Regions from separate parts of the Homo sapiens genome. Here regions 2 and 3 are each linked to region 1. The links are contacts of gene promoters, found by promoter capture Hi-C in blood cells and fetal thymus (Javierre and others, 2016). All regions are on one chromosome and are shown on one strand. Each heading gives the region's core, a stretch centred on a gene start or on the middle of the fragment in contact. The rest is flanking DNA. Distances are from core to core; before and after follow the strand shown. Region 1 holds the start of WWTR1 (WW domain containing transcription regulator 1). Region 2 has its middle 33 kb from the start of COMMD2. Region 3 overlaps WWTR1 (WW domain containing transcription regulator 1).

What was found. Contacts are between HindIII fragments. The CHiCAGO score rates a contact against its expected background, and 5 or more counts as called.
Region 2: a contact is called between a fragment that was not itself captured here and the fragment with the promoter of WWTR1 in region 1, in 1 of 17 cell types (endothelial precursors). The highest score is 10.8, in endothelial precursors.
Region 3: a fragment that was not itself captured here is called in contact with the fragment with the promoter of WWTR1 in region 1 in 1 of 17 cell types (endothelial precursors); the score reaches 5.8 in endothelial precursors.

What each region holds. Positions count from the first base shown.
Region 1 is chr3:149,656,310-149,659,998 of GRCh38, reverse strand. WWTR1 (WW domain containing transcription regulator 1) reads left to right here and starts at 1,974. Exons shown (of 7, transcript NM_015472.6): 1 at 1,974-2,234; 2 at 2,690-3,123. The coding sequence starts at 2,693. It overlaps WWTR1-AS1 (WWTR1 antisense RNA 1), which reads right to left and starts at 1,789. Exons shown (of 3, transcript NR_040250.1): 1 at 1,291-1,789; 2 at 1-621. RefSeq lists enhancers at 1,121-1,330, 1,891-1,960, 1,568-2,147 and a silencer at 1,501-1,660. The HindIII fragment of the contact is 3,935 bases long and covers 1-3,529 here.
Region 2 is chr3:149,717,279-149,720,967 of GRCh38, reverse strand. It overlaps a transcript of WWTR1 not described here. Among named protein-coding and RNA genes, the nearest start is that of COMMD2, 33 kb to the left of the region's middle. The HindIII fragment of the contact is 3,669 bases long and covers 1-3,442 here.
Region 3 is chr3:149,612,859-149,616,547 of GRCh38, reverse strand. All of the region lies in intron 2 of WWTR1 (WW domain containing transcription regulator 1), which reads left to right. Among named protein-coding and RNA genes, the nearest start is that of WWTR1-IT1, 37 kb to the left of the region's middle. The HindIII fragment of the contact is 2,801 bases long and covers 314-3,114 here.

The sequences.
Region 1 (3,689 bases), core at 725-3,224:
TGCAGTGAGCCGCGATCATGCCACTGCACTCCATCCTGGGCAATAGAGTGAGACTCCATCTCAAAAAAAAAAAAAAAAGGATGATACGTGTATGCCTGCCTTAGTCTAAGATGGCCCTAATTTCTTCCAGTCTATGAGGAGTCTGGAATTGGAGCCACCTCCAAGTACAGATAACAGGGGAAGTGGCTCACTTTGGTGGTTCTGTTTTGGATATGGATGCAGCCATTCAGGGAGTGGCCCCAAAATTCTACCTTTTCCGAGGCAAAACTATGAGTGGCCTTGTCTTTTCCTTAAACTTTTCTCCTCCAAGGCAGCTCCAGATTTTAACTTCGACTTTATTTTACCCTGTAAAAATATTAAGGCAGGCTGGGCGCGGTGGCTCATGCCTGTAATCCCAGCACTTTGGGAGCCTGAGGCGGGCGGATCACCTGAAGTCAGGATTTGAGACCAGCCTGGCCAACATGGTGAAACCCCATTTTTGCTTTTAAAAAATACAAAAATTAGCTGGGCGTGGTGGCAGGCGTCTTAATCCTAGCTACTTGGGAGGCAGAGGCAGGAGAATCGTTTGAACCCGGGAGGCGGAGGTTGCAGTGAGCTGAGATGGAGCTATTGCACTCAAGCCTGGGGGACAAGAGGGAGACGTCACTCAAAAAAAAAAAAAAAAAAATTAAGGCACAATACGTGAACTTGAAGAACATACAGTTCTCTTTTATTTAACAAACACTTACGTAACCAGCCCGGTGCTGTGCGAAGTGCTTTACATTGTCTCGTTTGATTTACTTAATAAACTCCTATTTGAATCAAATGGGGTGGAGTAGGGGCTTCCTGGAATTTGGCTTACCTCGCCATCTCCCCCCACCCTTTCCCCTCAGTGGAGAGGCAACCAGAGAGAAAAGAAATTGAGCTGCTCTGAAGGGCAAGGCCTCCTCCTACTTCCCGCAGCTGTTTCGCCAGACTTGACCTTCTTCCCTTAGCTAGAGGCAGGGGGTCTCCATCCCTCGCCCAGATCTAGTTGGTGGGAAGGTGGGTGGCTTTTTTCGGGTCACTGGCGCACCCTCTCTACTTCCAGCCACCTGCTCGGGTTCCATCCCGGCTCCAGGCTCCCCGGAGGGCGGCAGGGACATTCCAATCCTCCCACAACCCTCACGGATGTTGCGGGGGAGGGGGGTGCAATTGCTCTTCTCTTCCAACACCCAGCTTTTTCTTCTCAATCTCTAGTGGCCTGAGTCACCCCCGTAGAGGAAATTAAGGATTGATGAATGGTTTGAAAGTTGTTTGTTTACAACCCACCCGTTGGCGAAGCCGCATCTCCAGTGACAGAGGCACTTTCTGGGCACCGTCTGTGCTCTAGCAGACAATTGAGAGCCAGGCAGCCAAGATGCCTCCTCGCCAGACCAAATATGGTCACAAGAGCTAAGCAGCCTCTCGTGGAAAAGCTGGCCTTGTTGGTGTCTCCCCGCGCCGGGGCGCACCCGGGCCGGCCTTCGGGCAGAATCGCGGGTCAGTGCGGCGCTCCGGGTGCTGCAGGCCTCGGCGCCTGGCTGCAGGGGAGGGCGCGGTGTCCAGGACCGGCCCTTCCTAGGCCTGAGCCCCTCATCCGCGTGCCCTCCGCCACCCCCGGCCTTGGTTTCGGTCCACAACCCCTTGATGAAACAGGCTCAGGCCACTTTCCCTTTGATCCCGCCCCAAGTCCGTGGTAAACTCAAAGGAATGCAGATGCAGGTCTGAGCGGGAGAGGTCCGCGCGGCCGGGAGGAGTGGGTGGGGGGCACCCGTCTCCTCTTACCCAGTAAAGTACCCATCACGCCCAGGGTTTTCTGGAGCCGAGGTGGGAGGAGGAGGAGGAGGAAGAGGAGGGGCGAGCGGGGGCTGGCCGGCTAGGGACTAGGAGGTCATACATAATTCAACAGCTCAACTTTCGGGCCCGCCTCTTTCCTGGGGGTGGGAGTTTGCTCCAAACTTTGTTTATGGGACAGTCCGGGAGCTGCTGCGGCCGCGCTGTCTGCTTCTCCTGCGCCTCCTTTTCGCCCAGCACTAGCGCCTTAGGCCAGCTCGGGGGATGTGAGAGCCGAAGCCCTTAGACTGCCAGGCACAGAGTCGGGTCGGGATTTGTCAGCCAAGCCTCGGCTCCAGCTCCGCAATCTCGGGACTCACCCGAGCGACCCAGGCCCGACGGCAAGTTCGGGCGGGACGGCGGCCGCCGCGCGCTCAGGCTCAGCTTCGCTGCCCGCCCAGGTAGTGCCCGCTGGAGCTCGCGCGCTCATCCGGCACCACTCCAGGGCTCCAGGCTCCTCGGGCTTCCGGAGTCGAGACGTGGTGGAGTTGGCTCGGGCTGAACTTCTTTCGGGGGGCTGCCTGTCCTGGAATCGTGCGACCTTTCCTTTGCCATCCTGCGGTTCAGCAAGCCCCGAGTGCAGTTATTCCCTCCACCCCTCGCCCTATCTTCTCCTCCTCCAGGCAACTTCTTTGCTTCAAGAAAGTTGCATAATTCTCGAGGCCAGGAGGGACCCCTCCCCCATCCTGCTGGTCTTACCGCTGAGTGTCTGGGATCTCCAGGCGGGCAATTATCTGTCTCCTCGTTTCCTTTTCCCTCTATTCTTTCTCCCACCATCTCGCCCTCTCACCCTGTAACCCTCTTACCCACTTCCTCCGACTTTAAATAAAAGGCTGATCTGACCTTCTTTTTGCAGAAGATGAATCCGGCCTCGGCGCCCCCTCCGCTCCCGCCGCCTGGGCAGCAAGTGATCCACGTCACGCAGGACCTAGACACAGACCTCGAAGCCCTCTTCAACTCTGTCATGAATCCGAAGCCTAGCTCGTGGCGGAAGAAGATCCTGCCGGAGTCTTTCTTTAAGGAGCCTGATTCGGGCTCGCACTCGCGCCAGTCCAGCACCGACTCGTCGGGCGGCCACCCGGGGCCTCGACTGGCTGGGGGTGCCCAGCATGTCCGCTCGCACTCGTCGCCCGCGTCCCTGCAGCTGGGCACCGGCGCGGGTGCTGCGGGTAGCCCCGCGCAGCAGCACGCGCACCTCCGCCAGCAGTCCTACGACGTGACCGACGAGCTGCCACTGCCCCCGGGCTGGGAGATGACCTTCACGGCCACTGGCCAGAGGTACTTCCTCAAGTAAGTCAGCCTGGAGCCGAAGAAGGCACCAAGTCACAGTGCCCAACGCGCGCGTGTGTTCGTGTGTGTGTGTGTGTGTGTGTGAGAGAGAGAGAGAGAGAGAGAGAGAGAAAGAGAGAGATGGTGCGTGTCCTTCCACGGTTATTTCACAGATATGGAGAGCTGGAAGCAGGGAGTGAGTCTCTGAGTGTTGGAATTGTAAGGGATCAGAAGCAGGGATCAGAAGCAGTGGTGAAGTTCATCCACCATAAAACACACAGGTGACTTTGCCTTGAATCTGCAGGACTGAAGCCAACTCTTGGGCACAGACCCTTAGTCCCTTCCTTGGCCACTCTAAGTCAGATAGTCCAGAGCCAGGCCCTTTGGGATGTGACACCGAGATAAATCAGAGAAAAGCTGTGAAGCTTGGGGAACAGAGGGACTTTTGGTGAAGTAGGTGGTCTGCAGTTTCTATCTTCTTGGGAAAAGCAAGCTGGAAAAGTGAACAGTGGTTGGTAGGCCATAGTGCTCCCAGCTGGGTGACATAATGACCACACAGCACAGTGATGTTATTAGCAACTGTGTGG
Region 2 (3,689 bases), core at 359-2,858, 61 kb before region 1:
CAAAGTCAACACACAAAAATCAGTCGCATTTATATACACAAACAATAAACAATCTGAAAAAACTTAAGAAAACAATTCCATTTATAATAGCATCAAAAATAATAAAGTACCTAGGAATTAACTTTACCAAGGATGTAAAAAATCTATGTACTGTAAAGTACAAAATATATCTGAGAGAAATTAAAGAAGACATAAATAAATGGAGAGCTATTTCATGTTCACGGATTGGAAGACTTAATATTGTTAAGATTTCAACACTACCCAAAGTGATCTACAGATTTAGTGTGGTTCCTATCAAACAAGTAGGTTTTTTTTTTGCAAAAATAGGAAAACAAATCTTAATATTCATATGAAATTTCAAGGAACTCTAAATAGTCAAAATAATCCTAAAAGAGAAGAACAAAGCTGGAGGACTCACACTTACTGATTTAAAAATTTATAATAGGTAATAGTAATTAAGACAGTGTGGTAGTGGCATAAAGACCACACATAAAGACCAATGAATACAATAGAGAATCCAGAAATAAATCTTCAAATATATGGTCAAATGATTTTTGGTAAGGGAACCATGATTATTCAATAAGAAAAGGACAGTCTTTTCAACAAATGGTGCTGAGAAAACTAGATATTTACATGCAAAATAATGAACTTTTACCTTTACCTAATACCATACGCATAATTTAGCTCAAAGTAGATCCATGGCCTAAATGTAAGCCCTAAAACTATAAAACTCTTAGAAGAAAACATAAGGCAAAAACTTCACGACATGGGATTAGGCAGTGATTTTGTGTGATGACACCAAAGGCACAGGCAACAAAAGAAAAAAACAGACAAATTGGACTTCATGAAAATTTAAAAATTTTATATCAAAAGACACTATCAACAGAATAGAAAGACAGCCTACAGAATTTGAGAATATATTTACACGTCATATATCTGATAAGGGATTAGTATCCAGAATATATGGAGAACTCCTAAAACTCAACAACAAAAATACAAACAGCTCAATTCAAAAATGGGTGAAGGACTTGAATAGATATTTGATACTTCTCCAAGAAGATATACAAATGGCCAATCAGCACATGCAAAGATGCTCAGCCTTACTAATCATTATGGAAATGCAAGTCAAAACTATAGTGAGAGCCACCTGGACACCCTTAGGATGGCTACTATCAAAGCAATAGAAAATAAAATGTGTTTGCAGGGTATGTGGAGAAAATAGAATCTTTGTGCCTGTTTGGGGGATATAGAATGGTATAACCACTGTGGAAAGCAGTATGGTGGTTTCTCAAAAAATTAAAAATAGATTTACCATATGATCCAGCAGTGCCATACTCAGAAGAATTAAAAGCAAAGTATCAAAGATATTTGTATGCTCGTGTTCATACAGCATTACTTACAATAGCTAAAACATTGAAGCAACCCAAGAGGCCATTGACAGATGAATGAAAAAGCAAAATGTGATATATACTTACAATAGAATATTGTTCAGCCTTAAGGCTGGGCACAGTGGCCACGCCTGTAATCCCAGCACTTTGGGAAGCCGAGGCAGGTGGATCACCTGAGGTCAGGAGTTCAAGATCAGCCTGACCAACGTGGTGAAACCCTGTCTCTACTAAAAATAAAAAAATTAGCTGGGCTTGGTGGCTGACGCCTGTAGTCCCAGCTACTCAGGAGGCTGAGGCCCAAGAATCACTTGAACTCGGGAGGCAGAGGTTGCAGTGAGCCCCAAGATGATGCCACTGCACCCCAGCCTGGGCAACAGAGTGAGACTCGGTCTCAAAAAAGAAAAAAAAAAAAAGAAAAAGAATATTATTCAGCCTTAAAAAGGAAGAAAATTCAGGCCAGGCATGGTGCCTCACATCTGTAATCCCAGCCCTATGGGAGGCCAAGTCAGGCAGATCACTTGAGGTCAGGAGTTCAAGACCAGCCTGGCCAACATAGTGAAATCCCATCTCTACCAAAAATACAAAAATTAGCCAGGCGTGGTGACAAGCACCAGTAATCCCAGCTCCTCAGGAGGCTGAGGCAGGAGAACCGCTTGAACCTGGGAGGCAGACGTTGCACTGAACCGAGATCATACCACTGCACTCCAGCCTGGGCAACAGAATGAGACCCTGCCACAAGAAAAAAAAAATGAAGAAGAAGAAGAAAGAAAATTCTGAGGCATGCTACAACATGGATGAACCTTGAGGACATTAGGCTAAGTGAAATAAGCCAGTCACAAAACAACAAATACTATATGATCCCACTTTTATGAAGTACTTAAAGTAGTCAAAATCATAGAGACAGAAAGTAGAATGATGGTTGCCAGGGGTAGCAGGAAGGGAGCAATGAGTTGTTGTTTAACGGGCATAGAGTTTCAATTTTGCAAGATGAAAAGAGATCTGGAGATGGATGCTGGTGATGTTTGCACAACCATATGAATATACTGAATGCCACTCAGCTGTGCACTTAAAAATGATTAAGATAGTAAATTTTGTTACATATATTTTACCATAATAAACTTTGGGTAAAAAATTAAAATGAAAAGAACCAAAGTGAGATAGCAGAGGACCCTGTGAGCTGTTGAGCCTGTGTGAACAGAGACTAGTGGCCCTCATGGCATGTGGCTGAATGAGTGGTTGGTAACGATCTCCTGCTTTCTACTATCTGTTTCCTTTTCTTCCTCAGTTTTTTTCTTAATCTGCTTCCTTGAGAAAACAATCCTGCTTCTTTGAGATACAAAATTCCAAGTTTGATGTGGTGATTATGGGGAAAAAAAGAACGTAAGGTCACAATGAGAAGATGGGACACTATGGAAGGCCCTTTAATTTTCTAATAGTCACATAGACTTTAAAAAATAGTCTCTGGGGTCTGGTAACTTGGTAATGTCATTGAGTTATTATAAAAGAGTAAGCAATTTTATAATATATTTGTTTAGGGATATAATTTTGTATAATTTCCCTTGTTCACTTATTTTTCAGTATAAATCAGCCTTGATGATATGATCATTTCTATTTTTTTCTAAAATTAGAATAATAATAATACCTGTTTTATTAATGGTGATATAAAATCTAGGAGAAAAACATGAATGAATACTCACAAGTATTTACTACTTGTGAGTAGTAGAAAACATGTGAATACTAACAAGCTACCATAGTCTTGTTCCTGAATTTCCATAAGAGAGACCTTCCAAATGTATGAATTTTTATGTCTATATCTTAAGCCAAGAATATCCTTCTTCACTATACCCACCCTACACCTAATCAGGAAATTTTCAAAGTCTTTCAACATATTTCATATTCACAAATTGCTTATGTTGGATCATCACCCTTGTCCTTCACTTCTTGGGCACCAGAGGGCATACATCTTAAATCTCACTTTCTCAGAGACACAAATCCTTTTTCCCTCCACTGCAGGATTTTCTCCTCTGGATTTGCTCTGGCACCTCGAAGAAGCTTAGGGGAACAGTTCAGCTTTGCTCTTCCTGATAATTAGTGGCTTTCCTGATGGTGTGGTTCAACACACCCACCAGAGACGGAAGGTAATGATTACTCAGGAGACCTGCTTCCTTTATCAATCTGCACAATCAAAAGAATTGTCCTTGAAAATAGTCTTTGTAGACCATTAGTTCATAATCTTTTTTGTTTGTTTGTTTGTTTTGCTAACTTTTCATTGTTTTTAGGCTGAAGATAGCCTAAAATTGT
Region 3 (3,689 bases), core at 465-2,964, 43 kb after region 1:
TTGCTTGAACCTGGGAGGCAGAGGTTGCGGTGAGCCGAGATCATGCCATTGCACTCCAGCCTGGGCAACAAGAGTGAAACTCCACCTCGGAAAAAAAAAAAAAGAGAGAGAGAGAGAGGACAGCCATTTTATTAGGAAAGTACAGAGGAAGAAATACGTAGTTCTAGCCAGGGGATTTCATTACATGGGATTACAGAGAAGGGTGTTCCCTGAACTGAATTTTTAAAGATAGGGTCAAATTTTCATAGGCAGAAAGAAAGGGTGGGAAGCGGACATTCTCAATTAAGGGGAAAAATGAGATCTTATGGAAGCTTTAAAGCCTGAGACATTTGAGGGAACAGAATTTGAGAATTGAGTCTGCGATGAGACAGGAAAAGCCCACAGGCAGTAAAAAATGCCGGTGGCTGAGTGCAGTGTAGCTTCCACTGAACTCTGTGGATGTTTATGCTTATTTGAACCTTGTTGGAATATTCCTGGTTTGTTTTATGAAGGGATGTCTCTCACTGAGGATATTGACTCAGGGACGTTTCCTCTTTCAGTCAGGATGGCCTCCATCAGACCAATATTGTTCTCAGGCCATTTTTTTGTTTTGTTATCTTGGATAAACAGAGAGAGGCTGATTCATTTTTCTAGAAAAACAGGATGCACTAAAATACTGCAAGTGACAATGAAACAGACATGCTCACGTACAATAATATTTATAAAGGGACCAAACAATATATGTAGCAGACACCTCTGTGGTGTGGCCGCTACCCCTCCTCCATCTCACTTGCCTTGAGTCCTTGGCCAAGTGGGTTGTTTCTTTCGATCTGTTTCCTCAGATATCAAATGAGACCAATAATACCAACTGAACAGGCATGTCTCAAGGAATTGATGAGTATCAAGTGCTAGAAATAGTGCTGGGCACGTAGTAAGTAGCCATTCCAATAGAGCTTAATTATTTGTGCACTGGGTACGAAATACTGATTCGTAATTGGAGCAATATATATTCACAATGATTTTTTTAAAACTTTGTATTATGGAAATATTCAAATATCCATAAGAGAACAGTATGATAATTTCCCACGTACCTACCATCCCTCCACTTCAGCAATCGTCCACATTCTGCCATTCTTATTCATTGATCCCCTTCCTCTTTTAGAAATGTTTTAAATTTGTAATGGTTAACTGCTACCTAAATTATTTTAAAGCAAATTCTGGAGAGCATATAATTTTGTGTATAGAGAGTTTTTAAGAGTCTGATAAATCAGTGACCAAAGAAGAAATCCTTATAAAAAAATGGTTGAAACCAGTGTTTTGAATGCAATTTTCAGAGCTGAATTATAGGTATTTCTGCAACCAAATTAGGACATGTCTGCAAATCTTTAAGAGTGGCATTTTGAAAGTTCAGTATTGTTTATTTCATTTAAGGAGCATGCCACATGCTGGTCTGCACATAGATTAGCACTTAGGTGCATATGCAAAACACTTTTTTCTAATGGAAGATTTAAAACATACCTCAATACTAGTAGACTAGTATAATGTACCCCCCTGTAACCATCACCTAAGCTATCTTTTTTTTTTTGAGACAGAGTTTTGCTCTTGTCTCCCAGGCTGGAGTACAATGGCGCCATCTCAGCTCACTGTAAACTCCACCTCCCTGGTTCAAGTGATTCTCCTGCCTCAGCCTCCCGAGTAGCTGGGACTACAGGTGCATGCCACCATACCCGGCTAATTTTTGTATTATTAGTAGAGACAGGGTTTCACCATGTTGGCCAGGCTGGTCTCGAACTCCTGACCTCAAGTGATCCACTCACCTCGGCTTCCCAAAGTACTGGGATTACAGGCGTGAGCCACCATGCTCACCCTAAGCTATCGTTCTGATGTCTCCTTTTGAAAGATGTTCATATTGTTTGTAAGAGACTTCTTAGGTCAAAAGAGCCTTAATGATTTTGGAGGAAGATGTAGAATCAAACATTTATATTACACTACATGAAAAGAAATTCTTATTCATCAGTGCTATTGCCTTTGAAAAGTACAGTCAGTACTGCTTGATGTGGGTATGTTCTGAGAAGGGCATCATTAGATGTTTTCATCATTTTGTGAACATCATAGAAAGTATAGTCTACTACACATATAGGCTATATGCATAGCCTATTGCTCCTAAGCTACAAAAACTGTACAGTATGTTACTGTACTGAATACTGTAGGTATTCAATGGTACAGTGGTACAAATACAATGGTAAGTATTTGTGTATCTAAACATAGAGAAAGGTAATGTGTTGTGCCACGACATTTCCACAGCTACGATGTTGCCAGGCAGTAGGAGTTATTTAGCTCCATCATGATCTTATGGGCCCACTGTTGAATGTACCATCTGTTGTTGACCCAAAAGTCATGCTGCACATGACTGTGTGTCAGTAATAGCTCTCAGAGGAACTGATTTTCCCAGATGAAATATAAGTAAAATCTGATGTTTGAAAGCAGTTCAAGCAAGACCCCTCAAAAGACATTTAAGCAAGAACACATTTGGAAGCCAGTACTGAAGTGTTAGTAATGGATAGGGAAGTTATGTATTTTCTCTTCTTTCTTTTTTCCATTCATCTTTCTCTCTCTCTCATTTTTGTTTATCTGCATTTTACAATTTTTTTTTTCACCGTGAGTGTGGATTTTCTTTCACCATGAACATGGATTATTTGATTGTTGAAAAATAACAAAAGCCCAGCTGGGTGTAGTGGCTCACACCACTAATACCAGCACTTTGAAAGGTGGAGGCAGGCAGGTCGCTTGAGTCCAAGATTTCGAGACCAGCCTGGGCAACAGTGAGACCTCATTTCTACAAAAAATTAAAAAATTAGCTGGGTATGGTGGTATGTGCCTGTAGTTTCAACTATTTGGGAGGCTGAGGTGGGAGGATCACTTGAACTCAGGGAGGGTCGAGGCTGCAGTGAGCCAAGATTGTGCCAGTGCACTCCACCCTGGGCAACAGAGTGAGACCCTGCCAAAAATAAAAATAAAAAAGTAACAAAAGAATATAAGTTAGTAAATCAAAGAAGAGATGCCGGGAGTGGAGATTGGCTGTATTGAGATGAGTATGTCAGGGGCAGATAGATAATGTTTCTGAACCAGCAAGCTTTTACCCTTCATCTTGCTGCTTGTCTTTAACCCTTTCCTTGGTCCCTGGGTCTTGCCTCTGCATTCTCATTACTGATGGTAGGGAGTGGTACTCATCTTCATGACATAATCTCATTAGGCCAAGAGAGAGGATAATTGGCCATAGTTCCTAGGCCAGTCCCCTAAGCTGTGTTAGGCTTTCATATATGATTCTGTCTGGTCCTGTGCCTTTACATTTCCTGGTCTTGCCTTCTGAGACTGCCCAGGTTTTAAGAGGTGGGTGTTGGGAAAGGCTAGGAGATGGTGGATGCTGGAAGACAAAACACTAGCAGAGTGTAGTCTCTCCCCTTATGATCCTGAAAGTATAAAAAGCCATCTCTGCTCTGCTGCCAGCCTACCCACCTGCACTTTGGAAGAAGAGCTGTTGGATATTTCAGAATGGTTTTCAGACTGGCATTGGAACCGTGTTCTAAAGTTAACGATGATGGAAATAATTTAGTTGTAGAGGACTCTAGACAGGCTTGTGTAAAGCAAGCAGGTAAAGGAATAAAACATTAAAAATTGTGTAGGAAGAGATGTTTTGAGGTATCAGTGTA